Linked DNA regions of Homo sapiens: region 1 is linked to region 2. Evidence: promoter capture Hi-C in 16 types of primary human blood cells and fetal thymus (Javierre and others, 2016). All regions are on one chromosome and are shown on one strand. Each heading gives the region's core, a stretch centred on a gene start or on the middle of the fragment in contact. The rest is flanking DNA. Distances are from core to core; before and after follow the strand shown. Region 1 overlaps ADAP2 (ArfGAP with dual PH domains 2). Region 2 holds the start of EVI2A (ecotropic viral integration site 2A).

What was found. The method cuts DNA at HindIII sites, captures the fragments that hold promoters and counts their contacts. A CHiCAGO score of 5 or more calls a contact.
Region 1: a contact is called between a fragment that was not itself captured here and the fragment with the promoter of EVI2A in region 2, in 1 of 17 cell types (M0 macrophages). The highest score is 5.2, in M0 macrophages.

What each region holds. Positions count from the first base shown.
Region 1 is chr17:30,948,196-30,953,919 of GRCh38, forward strand. ADAP2 (ArfGAP with dual PH domains 2) reads left to right here. Exons shown (of 11, transcript NM_018404.3): 7 at 1,092-1,175; 8 at 5,093-5,155. Among named protein-coding and RNA genes, the nearest start is that of RNF135, 20 kb to the right of the region's middle. The HindIII fragment of the contact is 2,387 bases long and covers 2,875-5,261 here.
Region 2 is chr17:31,317,501-31,322,976 of GRCh38, forward strand. It overlaps EVI2A (ecotropic viral integration site 2A), which reads right to left and starts at 4,122. Exons shown (of 2, transcript NM_014210.4): 1 at 3,995-4,122; 2 at 1-1,523. The coding sequence starts at 1,513. The coding sequence ends at 803. The region is part of intron 36 of NF1 (neurofibromin 1); the gene reads left to right. RefSeq lists enhancers at 951-1,000, 1,211-1,270. The HindIII fragment of the contact is 8,918 bases long and covers 2,097-5,476 here.

The DNA of each region.
Region 1 (5,724 bases), core at 2,818-5,317, 370 kb before region 2:
AAATCATAGTAAAGAACTTAAGACTTTTTTTTCTGAGGGTAGTAGACAGGACTCCAAGCCAGACTGATTAGATTTGTAATTAGAAAATCACTCTGGCTACAGGCTGGGCGCTGTGGCTCACGCCTGTAATCCCAGCACTTTGGGAGGCCGAGGCGGGCAGATCACGAGACCATCCTGGCTAACGTGGTGAAACCCTGTCACTACTAAAAATACAAAAAAAAAAAAAATTAGCCGTGTGGTGGTGGGCGCCTGTAGTCCCAGCTACTCGGGAGGCTGAGGCAGGAGAATGGTGTGAACCCAGAAGGCGGAGGTTGCAGTGAGCCAAGATCGCACCACTGCACACTCTAGCCTCGGCGACAGCATGAGACTCCATCTAAAAAAAAATAAATAAAGGAAAATCACTCAGGCTGCCATGAGAGGGCCAGTCAGAGAGCAGCTGATCAAGGCCAGCTAGATACATGGTTGTCTATGTGGGAGATGAAGGTGGCCCAGGCTGCTGAGGGACATGTTCTCTCAGAGTGACAGCAGAAGGGGCCAAGCCAGCTTTGGCCTAAGTTGCCATGAGCATCCTCATTAGAGGAGCATCCCCAGGCATAACTGCTCCCCACCCAAATGCCAATCTTTGACATCTGAGGACAATGATTTCCTAGAGCCTTGCTCCTTAGAGTGCATTCCACTGACTAGCAGCATCATATCACCTGAGAGCGTGTTAGGAATGCAGAGTCTTGGGCCCCATTCCAAACCTACTGGATATGCCTCTGCATTTTAACAAGAGCCTCAGGTGATTTTGCACGCATTAGAAGGTGAAAAGCACTGTCCGAGGCCATTGCAGAACTCCCATGCAGTTCACTCAATCCTTTTCCAGGGCTCTGGGGTTATCCCTGTCAGAGGCTTCCTGCTTGCCCGGGTTAGCCCACGAGGCTCTGACACAATCCTCCCTGGATGCCCCTGAGCCGAGCTGTGGGGTGTGTGCAGGTGCTGAATATATGTGCCCCACACCCAATGCCCAGCTAGCTTCCCGCCACCAGAGGTAGCTTCCCACCCACCCCATCTCACTGCTGTGTGTGTGTCCTGTGCACTTCTCTCCGCAGGAGATAGTGGACTGGTTCAATGCCCTCCGTGCAGCCCGTCTGCAGTACCTAAAAATGGCCTTTCCTGAACTCCCAGAGTCTGAGGTGAGCTAAATGCGGACCCCAATTTCTGAATCTCCTCTTGGCCATCTCCTTCTTTCCCTGTCTGTTGACCTCGAAGACACTCAGAAGCCAGACTAGGGCTGGGCGCGGTGGCTCACGCCTGTAATCCCAGCACTTTGGGAGGCTGAGGCGGGCGGATCACAAGGTCAGGAGATCGAGACCATCCTGGCTAGCACGGTGAAACCCCGTCTCTACTAAAAATACAAAAAAATTAGCCAGGTGTGGTGGCAGGCGCCTGTAGTCCCAGCTACTTGGGAGGCTGAGGCAGGAGAATGGTGTTAACCCGGGAGGCGGAGCTTGCAGTGAGCCCAGATGGCGCCGCTGCACTCCAGCCTGGGTGACAGAGTGAGACTCCGTCTCAAAAAAAAAAAAAAAAAAAAAGAAGAAGAAGCCAGACTAGTTTTGTTTGCAGGCAAGACCTCGAGGTTGAGGGCTGGGCTGCTCAGAGGGAAGCCCAAGGCATTCTCCAGGGGAGCCTGCGGGGGTTACAGCCTCACATACGACAAGGCGGCCTCCCAAAAGCTGGTCAGTGTCTCCCCTTCAGAAGAGTGTCAAGGGGCTCAGCAATTGGTCATCTCTTTCTGAACCCTTCTCCCTCTAAAATGTACAAATGATCCCTAACATACTGCTTACAGAGTGCTTTGAGCCCATTTTGTCTTGTGAAATGGCAGCCAGGCAGGGGTGATTATTTCCATTTCACTGATGAGTTATACAGTCCCAGGAAGGGCAGGTGAATAACCAAAGGTGTGCTTCCCTTTCTAAAATCCCCTCTTTGCCCTGTGATGCTCTGGGCTTGGGAAAGCCTGGGATCCTCTCCATTACAGTTGTAACAGGAGCAGGTATGCCCTTCATGGCCAACATCATGGGGAGCCGAGAACTTCATTTTGATTGTCTCCAGACTTCTGGGGCCTTCATCTCCCTATCTCAGGCTGGGCCAGGGAGACCCGCATGGTGTAGGGCAGAGGATGCTGTCTCGAGCCAGGAAGCCTGGGCTCTCAGGGATGCTCTATTGCTCACTTGCTGTGTGACCCCTGCAGGTCCTGGCACCCCTCTGAGCTTCTATTTCCATATGGGTAAGATGGCGGTTAGTCCAGGTCATCTTCAGGGTCCCTTCCGCCTCTGAGATTCTATGCTCTGGTCCTCTTCAAGAGGCTCCCCTCCAAGAGGATTTTATAAGTGATGGGGCTGGAAAACCATTTTAATGCTGGGATTTTCTTAATCTCAACCATTAGAGTTTCCTTGAAAGCCTAAATGCTCCTTAATTCCAAGGTTTGTAGGGAGCCAGTTGTCTGGAATAGGGTCCCCTCCAGGCCCAGGGATGTGCTGAGATGGCAGCTCTCTGGGAGCAATTCCAGCAAGGCCCGAGTCAGAGCCCTTGAGTCAGTCTGCTGAGTTTGCACCCAGAACTGGTTAATGCTGGCTCCCATGGGCGGGGAGTGGAGACTGCTGACTGCTGACTATGAGGAGGGAGGACAAAGTGCAGATGCTCAGCCTTATTTAATCTGGGCAAGCTGCCCATCTTTGCTGACATGTGTAAAGGAAATTGCTCTTTGGTCAACATCCTCAATGTTCCCCTGCCTCTCTCATCCACTGTCGGTACCTGATATCCATCCCGTGTCTTTCCTCCCATTTAATGTCTGTGTATGGTGTGAGGTTCTGAGCAATCACCAGGCCTGGCTCAAGCTTTAGGGGTCCACATGTTGGAAACCCAGGGCATCCCAGTGGGGTCTGTGGTCCTGTAATAAATGCATATGGTCTCTTGGACTTCAGAGAAAGTAGGTTTTGTCGCCATGGTGACAGATGAGTGCATCGAGGCTCAGAGAGGTGAGGTGACTTGCCTAGGTGATAGTACCTACTTTCTAGGGCTATTGTGAGACTCCAGCGAGCCAAGGCATCAGAAGTACAGGAAGCAGTGCTCCAGCCATGTGACTTTCCTTTTTTTCCCAATGGTTTCCCTAGGCCTCTGCTTGCTCTGTGCTGGCTCAAATTCCGAATATTGAGCAGTTCGGGACTCCATCTGTTTTCTCCAAATGGAACAATTAAAGCCTAGTGAATGTATTTTAAGAGAAGGGGAGTAGTACAGTTTATATCTTGTTTCTTACATTAAAAATTTTTTTTTAATTTTTTATAGAGATGATGTCTCACTTATGTTGCCCAGGCTGGTCTCGAACTTCTGGCCTCAAGCAATCCTCCTACCTCGGCCTCCCAAAGTGCTGGGATTACAGGTGTGAGCCACTGCATCTGACCAATATTTTCTTTTCTTTTCTTTTTTTTTTTTTTTTTTTGAGACAGAGTCTCGCTCTTTCGCCCAGGCCAGAGTGCAGTGGCGCCATCTTGGCTCACTGCAAGCTCCGCCTCCCAGGTTCACGCCATTCTCCTGCCTCAGCCTCCCGAGTAGCTGGGACTACAGGCGCTCGCCACTGCACCCGGCTACTTTTTTGTATTTTTAGTGGAGACGGGGTTTCACCGTGTTAGCCAGGATGGTCTCGATCTCCTGACCTCGTGATCCACACGCCTCGGCCTCCCAAAGTGCTGGGATTACAGGCGTGAGCCACTGCGCCTGGCCTAATATTTTCATTTTTGGCTCACAAATTTCCCCCTTTTAAACTTCCCATAGCTGTTCCCCAGACCTCACTTCCCCTGTGCCTCTGCCCTGGGCCCTGGAGCTCTGGAGAAGCCTCTCTGTTCTTTGAAGCCTGGACTGTCATTTGAAGCTCTAGACTTTCCAGGTTGATGCCTAGGAGCATAGGAGGCCATCATCAACCCCTGGAAACATCTCTGGGCGTAGGCTGCCAGGCTGGAAGGGATGCTGGGGATCACATGATCCAGGCTGTTTATCACACAGGGGAGACATAAGGCCTCGAGAGACAGAAGGTCTTAACAAAGGTAATGCAGCTGATGGAGGCCAGAACTGGAATTAGAACCAGGTCTCCCGACTTCTGCTTCAGAACTTTCTCTGTCCACTCTGGCATCATTTTCTTTTCTTTTTTGTTTTGTTTTGTTTTGAGATGGAGTCTCCCTCTGTCACCCAGACTGGAGTGCAGTGGCACTATCTCAGCTCACTGCAACCTCTGCCTCCCAAGTTCAAGGGATTCTCTTGCCTCAGCCTCCTGAGTAGCTGGGATTACAAGCGCGTGCCACCATGCCCAGCTAATTTTTATATTTTTGGTAAAGGTGGGGTTTCGCCATGTTGGCCAGGCTAGTCTCAAACTCCTGGCCTCAAGTGATCTGCCTGCCTTGACCTCCCAAAGTGCTGGGATTACAGGTGTGAGCCACTGCACCCAGCCTCTGGCCATTATTTTCTTGTTGCTTGGTGTCAGAATCCTGACCAGGCCTTTCCCAAGGTCCTGCTCAGAGGGCCCTGGCATATTTATACTTTAGCACCTAGTGTAGTGGTAGGAGTACAGTCTAGTGTCATTGGCCCTGGGCCTGAATCTCAGCTCTTTGTGCTACCAGTGATGTGACTTTGGGAAAATCCCCAGCCCCTTCTCTGTGGCCTGGTTTCTTCAGATGTGTAATGAGGCTGGTGATACCCACCTCGCAGGGTGATTGAGAATTGCACCTGGAGCCTGATGCAAAGTGGACCCTCAGAACATGTTGCCTGACACCAAGAGGGTCTCTGCAGAGCCTTGCCTATGTCCACACCCTGGGGTTACTGAAGGAATCCTTAAACCAAAACTCGGCCGTGCCACTAAGCTCTGCAAACATCTGGGGTGCTGTCGACTGGCTTTGTTGAAATATTAATATTATGACCATTGCACTTTCCAAATATAATACTGTGAGCCATGAGCGTACATCCTTCCCCATTTCAAACTTCCCCTTTGTCGGGAGCCAAGCTCGGCGGGAACCTGGAGCCTTGGGGTGTGAGTTGGGGGTCAGTGTCTGTCTCTCTTCCCCAGCTCGTGCCATTCCTCACCAGGAACTACCTCAAACAAGGCTTCATGGAAAAGACTGGGCCAAAGGTACCTTCTATCACTCCCTGGGGAACTTAATATGGTTTAATGTATATAGAAGGTTTCATGTGTTTATGGGATGATTGTTAAGAGGACAGTGAAAGGTGTTAGGCCAAGCTTGTCCAACCCACAGCCCATGGGCCACATGCAACCCAGGACGGCTTGGAATGATGCCCAACAGAAATTCATAAACTTTCTTTTTTAAATTTTTTTGAGACAGAGTCTTGCTCTGTCACCCAGGCCAGAGTACAGTGGTGTGATCTCGGCTCACTGCAACCTCCGCCTCCCAGATTCAAGCGATTCTCCTGCCTCAGACTCCTGAGTAGCTGGGATTACAGGTGCCCACCACCATGCCCGGCTAATTTTTGTAATTTTAGTAGAGATGGGGTTTCACCATGTTGGCCAGGCTGGTCTCGAACTCCTGACCTCAAGCGATCTGCCCACCTCAGCCTCCCAAAGTGCTGGGATTACAGGCATGAGCCACCATGCCCAGCCAAATTCGTGAACTTTCTTAAAACATTATGAGATATTTTTGCGATTTTTTTTTTTTGGCTCATCAGCTATCATTAGTGTTAGTG
Region 2 (5,476 bases), core at 2,872-5,371:
GAAAAGATGAATATTATTAATCATAAACAGTGAAACATACTTTGCGTTTACACTTAGCCTATTGGTGTGGCTATAAATCTTATTTATTTTAGTTGTGCTCTATTTCTTATTGATCTTTACAATGTGTTCTCTAAAGTAATAAAGTGAATGCAAATATACGTGGTCACAGGTTTATTCTGAGTTTTAATTTATTATACAAAAGTAAAGGTTTTAATTTAATATTAATAGTAGAAAAACACTTTCTTACGTGTGCCATATGGAAAGATAAAGGATCTATTCTAAAATTAGCTGTGTTGGTTGATAAGCTGGTGTGGATTCTGCCACATCCAGCAAGGAAGATACCATTAAATTACACAGTTTAGCTCTCTCTATCTATGCATTAGGAATTTGACTTCCATTTGATGTTAAAGCATATACTTGGCTTTAAGGACACACTAAAACTATTCAAAGTTTAATTACATTCAGACAAAGATCATCTAACCACTGTTGCTACATAGGGAATATTTATTTAATTATCCCTTGCTATCTCTATTAATCAGTTTCCTCAATTTATCCTTAAAATTTTCCTCAAATGCTTAGTTATTTTATTATTTGCTTTTTAAAATATTCAGTGTCAAAACAAAAGTACACAGTTTAAATAATTAAGCAGGCATACTTCTCCCTGTCTCACCTGCTTGATTCTAAATTGCAAGGTCTACCATGTCAAATTTTAGATAATCAGAACAACACTTTGGGATTAAATACCAACTGACTTCATTTTTACTCCATAAGCCTTCTCATTGCTACTTTGCATTTTTCTTCACTAACCTATCTGTTTGTTAGTAAGTTTTTCAGTTCCTTCTTCATCTTTTCTTTCCCTTGTAGCTGTGAGCACTCCAGTAGATTGCATCACTAGGTTGGGTCCTGTGAGCTGTTTTGTTCTTTTCCAAGTGTCTGATTCAGCGGGCCATAGACCGCTTGCCAGAAAATCGCCATTGCTTCTAGGCTGACGCTTGCCTACTTGTTTTGATCGTCTGAGAGAAGAGACTTTGTTTGCCAAAACCACAGTTGATAGAAATAGAAAGGTACAGATAAGAAAAAGCACTGCAATTATAATTAAGCAAATTAGCATAGCCATGTTGTTGTTGTTTTCCGCACAGACATCCTTTTTGAAAATTTCACCATGACTTTTGCTTGTGTTTTCAATGCTCTGTACTGTTGAAGGACTGTTGCTGACGACAGAAGGTATATAAAGCTCCTGTTCAGATTTAGAAGTTAAAGCTACGATGTGAGATGTTTCAGGCATGTTTGTAGAATTACCTTTATAATCTACTTCAGGAGTTATAGGGTTTGTGTTAATGTTTTCATTTTGGTTTCTGCCTGTCTTGTTTTGAATAACTGAATCCCAGGAAGAAGTACTGTTAGCCCACAGACGGGTATAGTTTGCTTTTGTTCCAGGAGACAAAGAAAAAACTGTTGTCATCAGAAAGGCAAGATGTAGGTAATGTCCTGTGTGTTCCATGTCCGTGGGCATGCTTGGCAATCTGTTGGGATAGCAATATAATTTGTTAGTTTGTGAAAGAATAATGGATCCTAGTTTTGGTAATTGTAGTTAAAAGATAGTGTTGAGATGTTACAAGTAAACTACAAGCTTATGCCTAATATTCGCTACCCTGAATTCCTTCTCAACTAAATTTCTTTTCTATTCAGCTATGTATGAAGAAGCATTTTAATTTCTATTAACACTTTTAGATGCTAGAAGTTAGCATTACAAATAAATATTAATCATTTTAAGTGGACTATCATGGCTTTATATAGTTTTCTTCCTTTGAAGCGTGCTAGACTTCTGCTTTGAGTCAGTTAGTTCTGCTTTTACTTTTCTGATTCCTTCTTTAAAAAAAAAAAAAAATTAAGGATCATTCTTACAGAAACTACCCACCCTCTAACCTGTCACCAATCTTTACAGAAGAAATGTGGCCTTGAGCTTCTTGCTTCATGTATGAAATAAATGCAAATTTTTTTGGTGGAAAGAGGGGAAGTTTGGTAGCAACCAAAAGAAACTGAACTTCAAATAGAAATTCAAGGTGTTCTTTTTTTTTCTTGGGTGTTCATCTTGAAGCTTAGAATAAAGCTGGTACTTAGAAATACATTTGTAAGTGTATTTGTGAACGCAATTTTACTGTGGTGGTTGTCTCTTTTCATTTATATTTCCCTGGACTGACTGTGTCTTTCTGAAGGCAAAGGCATACCAGTTTTCTCAACCTAAAAATCTGAAGAAAAAAAAAAAAAAACAGCAAATTTCCTCTGAGTAGACTTAAAAGTTCAACAAAAGTTGCTGGGTTTTCTTTTAAAGCATCATTTATACCTAGCATTTTTTCTGATTTTGACATAATTGTAAAAAAAAATGTGTAATAAAATAGAAATAGAGCATCAGGATCTTGATGATTTGGGATGAAGTGGCAGGTTATAAGCATCTCAACAGATAATTGAAAATGTTGAATTTCCGCTTTGGCCCTGAGCTTGCTGGAAACTAGTACAAAAAGGAGACAAGTTATATTATACATTTTTTAAATCTACCAAATGATTGATTTAAATAGAAATGGCATATCTTAGAATTTAACAGTTCCATGTACTGCTAACCCAGCAGGAAAGATTTATAATCATTATTAAGGTATCTTATAATAATATACCAGTTTGTCTTGAGCTACTTTTGAAAGGAGTATTTTATTGTTAGCATTTATTTGAATGAACTAAAAGCAAAACTATATTGTTCTCCTGAGATTTACTAAATGAAATTGCCTGGTTAAGAACCCTACGTATGCTATAGAAATTCTTCTCAAATGTACTTAGGAGTCCTTTTATTTAAAAAAAAAAAAAAAAGGCAGATTCTTACCTAGCTAGTATAGGTAGGGCCTGAAAGTCTTTGTTTCCAAACCAACTCCTAAGCAACATGGATGCCACTGCTAGTCAGGCTTTTGAACATCAAGGTTTTATAAGAAATGGTTGTTATATGTCATTGGCTGACATTTGTATACTATTAAAATACAGAAATTGAAAATAAGAAATGTGATACGTTGAGTTATGCAAACAAAAGTAGCATGTAATAAACAATGCTAACTGGAGACTATATTTCATATTAATAGTAGGGAGGAAAAACTATTAAATATTCCAGGATTAAGATTACTTTTTAGATTATGACCTTTAGTAGACAATTAAAGGCCCAAGTCACTGGCTTTTGTATAATAGTGTTCAGCTTTAATTTTTAAGTTTAGTGACATAAATCTTTGGATATTTCATGATTCTTCCACAAAAAGAAATACTTGAAATTGGATTAGCAAGTAATTTCCATCTTTTTATACTAGACTGGACTTCTGTATTAGATGCTAGAATGATTTAAAGTAGATTATTCTTTTCACATTAGTTCATTAACAGTGTAGTATACATCATAGTATTGGTACACATTTTAACAGTGCTTACCACGGAACAGATAATAGGCCTGCTGTTGATTGTCTTCAGCCAGATGTACTGCAGTGCCCAAATAAACAAACTGTATGACAAAATGAGACTTTCTCTTGCCCTTACAAATGCCTGAGAATTGAGGACTGTTTTTACTCCAGTTTATGCCTTGGAGGCCAGGTTGTGTTATCAGAAGTTTTCTTATATCTGATCATTTTCAGTAGAATTTATTTTCAGTAGAATTTGTAATGTCCAAGCATTAGTAATGAGAAATTTATTTTTTAACTTTTGAAAAATAACAAAACATTTCCAGTTTACTTGAGGAAACCAAACTTAGATCCTTCGTAATCCTAATTTAAAACTCCATGGCGATGGCAAATTTTTTCATTTCTAACTTAAAATTTATGTAACAGGACAGAAAAAAAAAGTATACATTTTCAGTCACAATTCTAGTTTGTTAGTGAGATTCTTACACACTTTGATAGCATTTCCTCGAACACTAATCTGTCAGACGTTAGAAGTGAAAAGGCATAAGAAAAGCCGTATATATATGACCTACCTTACAAAATGCTTGGTCAAAATCTGATTATAACGTGATTTTGATAAACCACTTCTTTTCTTGTCTTCTTTTTAAAGCAGAATAGACTTGGAGAATATGAGCCTTAAAGTAAATCTGCAGTAAAAAAGGATATGTGCAGCTAGTTTTCCACTTTTAAAACCAAACCACAGATGACACATTTCCTTTCCACTGCAACTAAAGCACATGTCACAGGAGGGAAAAAAAAAAAAACAACGAAAAAGCTCCAACTTCTCTAGTTGGCCACTGGCATGACAGGAGGCTTTGTAGAACCAATCCCCGCCTCCAGAGCAGGGAGGGTTTTCCACTTAATGCCTTTTGACAGTATGCTCATTCTATAGGCCTGCTACATGCTTTAGTGTCATTCAAAAGAGGTTTTGAAATGGTATCTTCCATTTCAAATCTTCTCTAAAAGACTTATTTGAAATCTACAGACTGATTTGAAAATGTGAGTTTGGAGTCCATGGGATACTGATCAGATAATGTAACAATTGTGGAACTGCAGCAATTATTTGAGAAAATATCTAGTAAACTTAGATTATATGGGACAGAAAATGCTTTCGTGTGGTGTAGTGTGTGTATACACACACACACACACACACACACACACACACACAACTGTCAAACATCCTGTCATCACCTCAAGTTTAACATGACTGAAACAGACTTTAAGAACTAGGTATGGGCTGAACACGGTGGCTCACACCTGTAATCCCAGCACGTTGGGAGGGTTGACGCAGGCAGATCACTTGAGGCCAGGAGTTCAAGACCAGCCTGGCCAACATAGAGAAAACCTGTCTCTACTAAAAATATAAAAATTAACCAGGCAGGGTAGCATGCACCTGTAGTCCCACCTACTTGGGAGGCTGAGACAGGAGAATAGCTTGAACCCGGGACGTGGAGGCTGCAGAGATCATGAGATCTTGGCTGCATGAGCTAAGATCATGCCACTGCACTCCAGCCAGGAAGACAGAGTAAGACTCTGTCTCAAAAAAAAAAAAAAAAAAAAAAAAAAAAAAAAAAAGAACTGGATATGGCAGCACATATCTGTAATCCCAGCTACTAGGTAGGTTGAGGTAGGAGGATCACTGGTGGAGCCCAGGAGTTCAAATCCAGCCTGGGTAACATAGCAAGACTCCATCTCTTAAAAATTAATTAAATTAATGAAATAAAAAGAACTTTATTTTTTCTTTAAAGGAGGCTGCCTGTGACAGTCTTCTTGTTTCTGTTCATGATAGCAACATTCTAATATCAGAGGCTTAGTATACAACACATCATTTTAATTTAAGTCCTCTCAGTCCTGATCAGACTTTGAATCATGTTGGTCCTTCCTTCATATTGTTGGATCAGTTTCTTTTTCCCTGTTTTTACTGTCAACAGTACTATTTTAGATCCTTATCAGGTCATACCTAGACTCTACAGTGCCTTTTCGGTAGCCCTGAATCCTTCTTATATCTTGTATAC